3 separate regions of the Homo sapiens genome follow, and regions 2 and 3 are each linked to region 1. The links are contacts of gene promoters, found by promoter capture Hi-C in human tissues and cell types (Jung and others, 2019). All regions are on one chromosome and are shown on one strand. Each heading gives the region's core, a stretch centred on a gene start or on the middle of the fragment in contact. The rest is flanking DNA. Distances are from core to core; before and after follow the strand shown. Region 1 holds the start of SETMAR (SET and mariner transposase domain methyltransferase). Region 2 overlaps ITPR1 (inositol 1,4,5-trisphosphate receptor type 1). Region 3 overlaps ITPR1 (inositol 1,4,5-trisphosphate receptor type 1).

The links. The method cuts DNA at HindIII sites, captures the fragments that hold promoters and counts their contacts. A contact is called where the count stands out against the background at its distance.
Region 2: a fragment that was not itself captured here is called in contact with the fragment with the promoter of SETMAR in region 1 in 1 of the 25 tissues and cell types used here (H1 embryonic stem cells).
Region 3: a fragment that was not itself captured here is called in contact with the fragment with the promoter of SETMAR in region 1 in 1 of the 25 tissues and cell types used here (heart left ventricle).

Annotation. Positions count from the first base shown.
Region 1 is chr3:4,301,822-4,305,184 of GRCh38, reverse strand. It overlaps SETMAR (SET and mariner transposase domain methyltransferase), which reads right to left and starts at 1,816. Exons shown (of 3, transcript NM_006515.4): 1 at 1,659-1,816. The coding sequence starts at 1,814. It also overlaps a transcript of SUMF1 not described here. RefSeq lists enhancers at 1,379-1,448, 1,477-2,219 and a silencer at 1,539-1,878. The HindIII fragment of the contact is 5,892 bases long and covers 1-3,363 here.
Region 2 is chr3:4,681,220-4,684,582 of GRCh38, reverse strand. ITPR1 (inositol 1,4,5-trisphosphate receptor type 1) reads right to left here. Exons shown (of 62, transcript NM_001378452.1): 26 at 3,165-3,219; 27 at 1,032-1,197; 28 at 785-955; 29 at 237-302. Among named protein-coding and RNA genes, the nearest start is that of EGOT, 69 kb to the left of the region's middle. The HindIII fragment of the contact is 4,756 bases long and covers 1-3,363 here.
Region 3 is chr3:4,616,240-4,619,602 of GRCh38, reverse strand. All of the region lies in intron 4 of ITPR1 (inositol 1,4,5-trisphosphate receptor type 1), which reads right to left. Among named protein-coding and RNA genes, the nearest start is that of ITPR1, 120 kb to the right of the region's middle. The HindIII fragment of the contact is 5,753 bases long and covers 1-3,363 here.

The sequences.
Region 1 (3,363 bases), core at 567-3,066:
GAACCTGGGAGGCGGAGGTTGCAGTGAGCTGATCGCACCACCACACTCTAGCCTGGGTGATGGAGTCAAGCTCCGTCTCAAAAAAAAACCCTTTATCTTAACCTAAACATTTCTATTGATCCCAGGTCTTCAGACAAACTCAACCAATTGTTAACCAGAAAAATTGTTAACCAGAAAAATTAAAATCTACCTATAGTCTGGAAGCCCCCCCCACCACTTTGAGTTGCCCCGCCTTCTGAACCAAACCCATGTACATGTTAAATGTATTTGATTGACGTCTCCTCTCTCCCAAACATGTATAAAACCAGGCTGTGCCCTAACCACCTGGGACACATGTTCTCAGCATCTCCTGAGGGCTGTGTCACAGGCCATGGTCACTCATATTTGGCTCAGAATAAATCTCTTCAAATATTTTAGAGTTTGATTCTTTTCCTTGACATCTTTGAAAGCTGCTATTGAATCTCTTATCTTATCTGATCCTCACAAAAACCCCTAGGAAAAAGAAAGGGCAGATAGGGTTCATTGTTGATAATGGATGTTAAAGGGGCTATGCATTTTTAAATTATTATTTTCATTTTGCAGATGAAGAAACTCAGGCTCTGGGAAGTAGCTAAGATGTCTAAGCTCCGAACCATACTCTCCAACTTCCACGTCCAGCGCTCTTTCCACTTCAAAATCTTTGGTCATTCCTTATTCCTTGGGTAACGCTCAGGCCAAGGTCGGAGGGATAAGAAAGTCAGTAGAGGCTGGGAGCGTGGCTCATGCCTGTAATCCCAGCATTTTGGGAGGCCGAGGCGGGCGGATCACCTGAGGTTGGGAGTTCGAGACCAGCCTGACCAACATGGAGAAACCCTGTCTCTACTAAAAATACAAAAATTAGCCGGGCGTGGTGGCCCATGCCTGTAATCCCAGCTACTCGGGAGGCTGAGGCAGGAGAATCGCTTGAACCCGGGAGGTGGAGGTTGCGGTGGGCCGAGATCGCGCCAGTGCACTCCAGCCTGGGCGACAGAGCGAGACTCAGTCTCAAAAAGAAAAAGGAGAGTAGAAAGGGCTTTGAGGTAGTTAATAGAAGCAAACATTTACTGAGTTCTTACAGCAAACCGGAAAGTGTATTTTCCTTGCCATTTTCAAAGCACTCCGGAAGAGAGGTACTGTTCCACTGTACGCTGGAAGACTCTAAGGCTGAGCCACAGCTAATTTACACTCGCCCAAGAGCCCACAGCGTGAGGGAGACCACAGCTAAGGCTGACTCGAGGGGCTGTTTTTATGCACGACACCGGCTGCGATCCATTAATAGGCCCCACGGCTTATCCTACCTGTGAGAGACACCTGAGACCAGGGAGGTAAATGACTCCCCCCGTGATGCCTCCTTGAGTTCTGAGGACAGGACTGGACAAAAAGCCAGGTTCTCACAAGGCCTCCGGTTCTGCGCTTCAGGGAATGGACTGAAAAGGACAACACCCTTGCTAAGGTGATGCCGTGGGTCAACAGAAAAAGGCCCAGGCCGGGGCATGCACACCTATTCCCGCGCACCAACGGGTGCGCTGTAAGAGAAGACAAAAGGTCGCGACTGGGAGGCCGTCCCAGCGAGGCGGCTTGAGGAGACCACGTGGGGGAGCCGCGCGCCCGCCTCCCGCGCCGCCTGGCCCCGCCCCTACCTGGAAGGGCGCCGGCGCGGCCCCCGGGGGCCACGCGCCCACCGGCAAGTTTTCCTGGCCGCACGCGACATCCAGCTGCTCAGTCGGGGCCTCAGGCTTCTCCTTAAACTCCGCCATCCCACAAGGCCGTGTCGTCTTTGCCGCTTCCGCGAACATTTACCCGCCTCACGCAACGCCCACTACCCTGACAGTCCTGGGCCGCGCGGTGGATGCTGGGACTTGTGGTCCCGTGGCCCCACCGCCTCATGGGAATTGTAGTTCGTTTCTTCTCAGGAGTGGCCTGGAAGGCGCTTCCCTTCCTTGACTTTTTGGGTCTGGCTCCCGTTTTGATTTCAGCCAGAGGCACCACAGATAATTACAAAACCATGTAAGGTACGGACGAAACAAAGTGAGGTGCTTTAGTTTTTCCTGGGAGCATCAGAGAGGGGGCTTTCGAGGTGAGGTCATTTGTCCAGGTTTTTGAGGGCTCACTGCACGTTTGTGGAGTGGAGGCAGGGGTGCGTTCTAAACCGAGCGGGGAAACGCACACCAAGGTTTCTAAAGGTCTGCGGCTTGCCGGGAAGTTGACTGACATGTGATAGGGTTTGTGCCAAGGCGATAGCCTCACAGGGTGCCTTAAGGAATTTGTGTGGGGGCATGCTCACTCCCTGATGGAGGTATCCGTGCCCCTTTGCCTGTCCTTTTCCCTCCTCTCCATCCCTCTACCCTCACCCCTCCAAACCCCTGCCCTGCCAAAGGATTCTGATAGCCTCAAGACTGCTGAATCCGGTGGAGCATTTTCAACCTCACTGAAGCTCTCTGACATGATTGTCCTGCTTCTCCTTGAAACTGTAAACCAAAAATAAAATTCCAATCCTCCAAACCATCTGAAGGGACCCCTCCTCTCTGCCAAGGTTAACCTGAGAAAGTGGTTCAGGCCATGATGGGAAGGGGGGTCCAACATGCCTCATTATGCCCTTCTTCCTTTTGGAATTCAGGAAAAGCCAGCCAGCATCAACATCAACACACACCTTAAGTCTGATAAGAAACATTTACAATCTGTTCTCTGAAATTTACCTCTTGGAGGCTTCATCTCCACGATCAAATTTGGTATCCACAACCTCTTATTGCAACCCAGACATTCGTTTCTATTGATTTTAGGTCTTTAGATAATAACCAGTTGCCAATCAGAAAATCTTTAAATCTACCTATGACCTGGAAGCCACCCCTCACCCGCTTCTCGTTGTCTGCCTTTCCAGATCCAACCAATCTTACATGTATTGATTGATGTATTATGTCTCCCTAAAATGTGTGAGAGTAAGCTGTATCCCAACCACCTTGGGCACATGTCATCAGGACTGCCTGAGGCTATGTTGGGGGCGCATTCTTAAGCTTGGGAAAATAAACTTTCTAAATTGAGACCTGTCTCAGATAATTTTGGGTTCACAAACCCTTCTGACCTTGCAGCTTCTGAGGTCCCATTGGCCTAAATGTGTTTCCATCTTGCAGACCTTTCCTTGTTAGTATCCTCTTGTTGTTTTCCTGCCTGACTGTTTCTGAAAAGTGGGTGTGATTCAGGGTTCTGCCCTTGACCTTTTTCTTTGCTCCCCTTCCCTGAACTTTCTCATTAATAACATCCACTCCCATGGCTTCAAATATAAAGGATTAGGTCACCAGTCTCCAACCCAGATCAGACGTTTCTCCTCAAATCCAGTTACGCATATTC
Region 2 (3,363 bases), core at 232-2,731, 380 kb before region 1:
TGCACCTACAAAAGGTGAGGAAGCTGAGGACAAAAATAATAAGTAGAAGAGCTGGGTGTGGAGCCCAGATCTGATGCCAAAACCCATGAGCTTAACCTCTGAGCTCTACTTTCTCCCTGTTAAACCACATGAAGAAAAAAGCTCAAATGTGTGTACCTTCAACTTGACTATCACAAACTAAAGCTCCTTAGAGAATTCATAAAGAAAGGAAAAATGGTGGTGGGGGAGGAGCTTACCTCTTTGACCACTCTGTAGTTGTAGCTGCTGGTGCTTTCATGCTTTTGTGGCTTGTTATTTCCCTCCTAGAAACCAAAGTGAACACAAGTGTGATCTGTACAACTCTTGGGCTACTGTCAGTTTTTTACAGTTAGCATCGACCTTTAGGAAAGAAAGGGAGTTCTATACTGTTTTACAATAGTCATGCTGGGCTTATGCCCCAGTCATCTACCTACTTGCTATGGGTTTCCTTGGGAAGGGATAGTAGTGGGCTGGGCCATGCCTAGAGAACAGGTCAATTCCCAAGTGGGTCTGTAAGGGAAACCTGGTGCTAATTCACTCAATATCGCAGTCTCTTCTACATGGTCCAAGGCTGCACAGGAGACATAGCTAAACTTTGATTCGTAGCTTATTTCCTAGGCAAACAGCTTGTGATCTTGGTGACTTAACAAGCAGATCTCTTGAAAATAAATCCTATCACATTTATACCTAAAACCAGAAGAGGATGCTCCCTAGTTTCGAGAAGCCCATCCATCCACTTTGGCAGCATAACTTGTGTTTCACTCACCTCCGTTTTCTTATGTTCATTTTCTCCAGATGCACCATCCATAGTCTCATCGGGGCCCTGCCCTTTGTACACCCAAAGCTCTGACTTTTCCACGATGGACCTCAGTTGATCCAAGTCTTGTTTGATCTGTTTGTAGTTGTCCACATCTTGGCTGGTAACCAGCAGTTGAACCTTAATGAACGCAATCCGTTAGGTGCACACAACAGCTTCTTGGACAGACAACACACACGTGGGTGACCTGAGCTACCTGTTTGAAGGCCTGGAGCACCTCCTGCCTCTGGCTGAAGTGCCGGAAGAGGAGCTGCAGGGCCCCTGACACCAGGGGTGGGTAGTCATGCATCGTCAAGTGGAGCAGGACACGGAGAAAGGTTCTGCCGCCGTGGTCATCCAAGTCCAGTGGGGTGTTCTCCTCACTAAAGGAGCACAAGGTGGGGAAAGGCCAAATGAATGACAAATGCCTCCTCTCACGCCCCTTGGGCCCAGATGCACCTAACCTAGTTGCATTTCTAGCACTGTGATCTCCAGACATGCAATTTCACTTTTCATTAGCTCCTTTAACAATACAGCCTTGCTTCATCTTCAACTATATTATGAGGTGAGGGGACAAGGAAGATGTCATATTAAAAGATAAGTCAAATTTTAAGCCAAAGTGACAAGACTAGCATTAGATTCTCAACATCTACATAGGGTGTTCTTCTGCTGGGCTTCGTCTGTGGTCTGAGAACTGCAAGAGGATGTGTTTCTCCTAAGTTATTAGTTTATGTATTTAGTTTTTAGAGATGAGGTCTTGCTATGTTGCCCAGGCTGAATTCAAACTCCTATGCTCAAATGATCCTCCTGCCTTAGCATACTGAGTAGCTGGGACTATAGGAATGCACTACCATGCCTGACTATATTTAAATATTAATAAGCATATCCTAGATCAAATGGCAGACTACTCCATAACTGAGCACTGCTAGTCAATTATTGGGTCTGCACCTATATTGGGTTTAGAGTCAAATGAATGACAAATGGTGGAAACTTCCTGGTTGCTGGCTAATAAGAAAAGCACAGAGAAGACTTATAAATACTGTATTCATGCTATGTATTCCAAAAAGGTGTGAAGGTTTCAATGCTGTTCACTATGAGGAAAATGGCGGGAGAGCTGAGTGATCACACAGCACATGGAACCTGTATTATGCTAAACTCACAATACCATGTTTAAGTTTCAGAAAAACATCTTCCATCATAGTACATAATGTTGCTAATTCAAATTTCACAGGTTTTATATTAAGCATTGAGGTAGACTATTAACACTGGTGGGCCCCAACAGAGTGTTCAAACCCTTATGTAGTCCCCTCCCACACTGACAATGAGCTTGGCCATGGGATTTGCTTGAACAATAAGATATTAGGAGATGCAATGCAAGCAGAGGCCCAATTAGCACTTGCATACTGTTGGCTTGTCCTCTTAGAACATTTGCTTTTTGAGTCAGCCACCGTGCTGTAAAGAAGCCCAAGCTATCCACATGGACAGAGAGAGAAAGAAGTTCTGGCCTTGCAGGCATCTCTGCTATAGTGCCAGAAATGTGAATAATCCAACTTGGAGGTGCCAGCCCCAGTTACCACCTCACTACAGTATGACAGACCCAACAGTGACCACCAGCAGAAGAACCATCCAGCTTAATCAAGCCACAGGACTGTAAGAAGTATTAATAAAATGGTGGTGGTTTGAATCCTTAAGTTTTTTGGAGTAATATGTTATAAAGCAATAATCAAACCAAGTGTGCTAATTATAAGAACTATGTGCATATGGTGTTTATACCAAATTTTATACTTGGAGGTATAAGAGTTCCATAATTATAATAATGTCTTAAGTCAAAATTGACCAGTGCGGTTTTTTTTTAAAGGGGTTCATACATTAATATTAGGAACAATGAAAGACCAGATTTTGCTTTCTTTGTTGCATAGCCTGTAAGGAGCTCAGGGATAAAATTGTAGCCCAGCAGCAGCAGCAGGACATGATCTTACTAACTTCACTCTGTTTTGAGCCCCTCTCTCTTTCTATTCTTCTTTTGATTGCATTTCCTCACTATGTAAAAATAATCTTGTAATGTAGGTATTTTGAGAAATCTCCTTAAATCCTTTCTGTCCTAGGTGGGACACACACACACACACACACACACACACACACACTTTCTCTCTCTCTCTCTCTCACTCTCTCTCTCCTCCCAATCAAGCCAACCAAGTTAACTCTGACTTGAGTACTAACAGTTCCAAAGATAGCACCAAAACAACCTAAGCCCAGAGACTAAATATTTACTAACATAATAAAGGGAAGGCCTCTGAGAGCTCTGGAAGAGCAGCCTTCCCTACAAAACAGTAACTGAAAATATACTTTCCTTCCTCCAAAGATGCCTTCTGCTTGTTCTTCAATGTGTTCAAAGTCAAGAGCACCTGAAAAGTTAGAACATACCACTTCAGATGCAGGAAGGTCTGCAAACATGCTGCTGGTGAACTCATCCATAAGTTTTGCAGGGTAAAGCTGTTGAGTTAACCCCAAATCTCCCAGAACATTATATTGCAAAGCTATGCAGAGTG
Region 3 (3,363 bases), core at 468-2,967, 310 kb before region 1:
AGCAGGGGAGGGCAGGGGAAGGGGGAAGGGGAAAGGGCAGGGGAAGGGGGAAAGGGCGGCAGAAGGGGATGGAAGTTGGAGAAGGGGCAGAAGGAGAGGAAAGGAGAGAGGGAGGAGTGAGGAGAGAGGTAGGTAAGGAAAGAAGAAAGGAGGAAAGGAAAGGAAGGAAAGGGGGCAAAAGAAAGAATAAGAAAGGAAAGTAACTTACAGAACAATCCATAGGTCCAATACAAGAGGAAATTCAGGAAAAGAAACTGAAGGTATGGAAACAATCAAAGAAATATACAAGATAATATCCTAGAACTGGAGATGACTCCCCAGGTTGAAAGAACCCAGTAATTCCCCAGCATAAGAAAATACAGACCCATACATGTCATTGCAAAATTTCAGACTAATGGGACAAGGAGAAGATCCTTAAGGCTTCCAGCAAGAAAAAAGAAGGCTCAAAGAAAAGAAGAGGAATAAGAATAACATCAGACATCTCACAGCAACCCTGGAAGCTCAAATATAACACAGCAGTATCTTAAAAACACTGACTAAAAAGAATTCTCAATCTAGAATTCTGAACTGTATCGAAATAACAACAAGGTATGAAAGTACAATAAAGTCAAGTCTAAAATCAGGAAGCTGCTGGAGGTTGTACTCCACCAAAAAATGGAGAGAACAGTTTTTAAATAGTTGTGTGGTTGTTTATCAAAGAGGTTGCCCTGGCCCAGCTCAAATGCCAACCCTTGTTCTATAGTCGAGACAGTATGCTTAATATGCTTAATGCTAGTCATCCATCCCACAGACAGATGTGAGAAAGAAAGTCCCACAGTGACACCATGTAGGGCATGTCACTGCTACAACCTGGAGCAGAGGCAAAGTGCTCCAGGGATAGAGGACGGTGGTGAGGAACAGGAGGGTCAGATCATCCGATGGATCCGGCACATGGAAAACATGCTGAGGAATTGGAGAGAGGGAAGACTCGGTAAACGCTACAAAAGAGCTATGCAAATAAAGAAAAATAAGACAATCACTAACTCTAGGGGAAGGTTGCATATGAAAATTCCAATATGTCTTTGGCTCATTAGCGAACAATATTTACATAGTCATAAAAATATTAAGACTGAATATTAGTTTAGCCAGAAAACTGGGACATAACTCTAGTGGGAGGATGGAGGAGGAACAGAGAAGTGTCACAAAGCTAACAATAACAGTAAGTTGACAAATGTTATTTAAAATACATTCATCTACAGACATCAAGAGACACACATCATCTAGAAACACAGTGGTAAATATCAGAAGAAAATGTTAAAATATTTGAAATTGTTGCCTCTGGAAAGTGAGAAGGCGTGAGGTGTCATACTGTTATGTTTATCAGTATTTGACTTTTTTGTGGTGAAATTCACATAATATAAAATTAACCATTTTAAAGTGACCAATTCAGTGGCATTTACTACAGTCACAATGTTGTAAAACCATCGTCTTTATCTAGTTCCAAAACATTTCATCATCCCCAAAAGGAAACTCTGTACCTATTAAGCAGTTAATTACCCCCCACCTCCTCAACACCCTATATTTGACTTTTTAAAGGATGTGCATATATCAAATAAAACTTTTTTTTTTTTTTTTGAGATACGCACGGTCTCACTTTGTTGCCCAGGCTGGAGTTCAGTGGCACCATCATTGCTCACTGCAGCCTCAACCTCCAAGACTCAGGTGATCCTCCCACCTCAACCTCTCAGGGAGTTGGGACTACAGGTGTAAGCCTGTAAGCCTTTTTTTTTTTTGCATTTTTTAATAGAAATAAGGTTTCGCCATGTTGCCCAGGCTGGTCTTAAATGCCTGTGCTCAAGCGATTTATCCACCTTGGCCTCCCAAAGTGCTGGGATTATAGGCATGTGCCACCAAGCCCAGCCAATATTTCAATTTTTTTAACCACCTTTTGGTACTCAATTGGTGTTCAGTTTTTCACAACTACAGACTGACAAGAAACAACAAAATCTGGATCTTATGATTTGAATGTTTGTCTCCTCCAAAACTCATGCTGACATTTAATTGTCAATGTAATGGTATTGGGATGTGGAGCCTTGAAGAGGTGATTAGAGGGCTTCACTATCATGAGTGGGCTTAATGCCTCAACACAAGAGCTTTTGGGGTTGGGCAGGTCTCTCTCTTGGCTCTTTTGTCCTTCTGCCCTATGAAGAACAGCCATCCTCCCCTCCACAGGATGCAGTATTTGAAATACCATCTTGAGAGCAGAGACCAGGCCATCACCAGACACCAAAACCTGCTGGCACCTTGACATTGGACTTCCCAGCCTCCAGAACTGTGAGCCAACAAGTTTCTGCTCATTATAAATTATCCAGTCTGTGGTATCCTGTTATACCAGCACAAATAGACTAAGACACTGGAAAATGCCAAGTATCAATGGGGACAGAGAAATCTTCCTACACTGCTGATGAATGCTCACACTGGGGCCACTACTGTGAGTGGCAACTGGTATAAGTCAAAGTAAGTACATATGTATAACCTATAACATGTAATCCAGCCATTCTGCTATAGGGCACACATTCCAAAGAAATTCTCACATAGGTTCTCTGATCTCACTACGTCCACAAGCAGAAGGACGCTGTAGGGAAGAGAGTGATGAGAAGGCACACCGACTCTTCACTGCTTTGGCCTGGAGGCAACGCAACACTCGCACTCACATGTCTTCAGTGATAATGAAATCACAAGACCCCACCATGATGCAGACAAGCTAAGAAATGAAGTTTAGCTGTGCCCAGGAAGAAGATAGGAGTTTCCCGTGCATCCAGCCCATCTCTGCTACACCCTGTCCTTGAGGTCAATAAATAATCTATTTCATTCTTTCTTATTACCCCACACCCCAGGCAACACTCTGGCTGGAGTTGCAGCAATTAAACATAGTCCCTTCTCTTTCAGAATCTGAACTCTTCAAAACCATCTCATTGACCAAAAAGACAATCCACGAGCTACCATTGTTTTAAAAATTCTTCATTCAGCCAGCATATATAAATGCAATTTTATATGAGATGAAATCAATAGGTGATATACACAAGCAGTGAATATGAAAATGGGAAGTGTTCAGCATTCATATCTTTTCCTGTTTTTGAAAAGGATAAGAGGAAAGAGAATAAAAATTTCAGAAGGAAAAGACAAAATGATTAACACAGGGAAGAGGGAGTATTAATTCCCCACCAAGGGGGTTAAGATTTAAAAGTAGTAATGAGAGGGGAATATAAAATAATCCATATTTTAAGAACTAACCCAATTCAAACTTATTAGACTGTAAGCCTCATGAGGTCAGGGCTTATTTGCTCTATTAATCATTCTATTCCTGATATATTCAGTAAACAC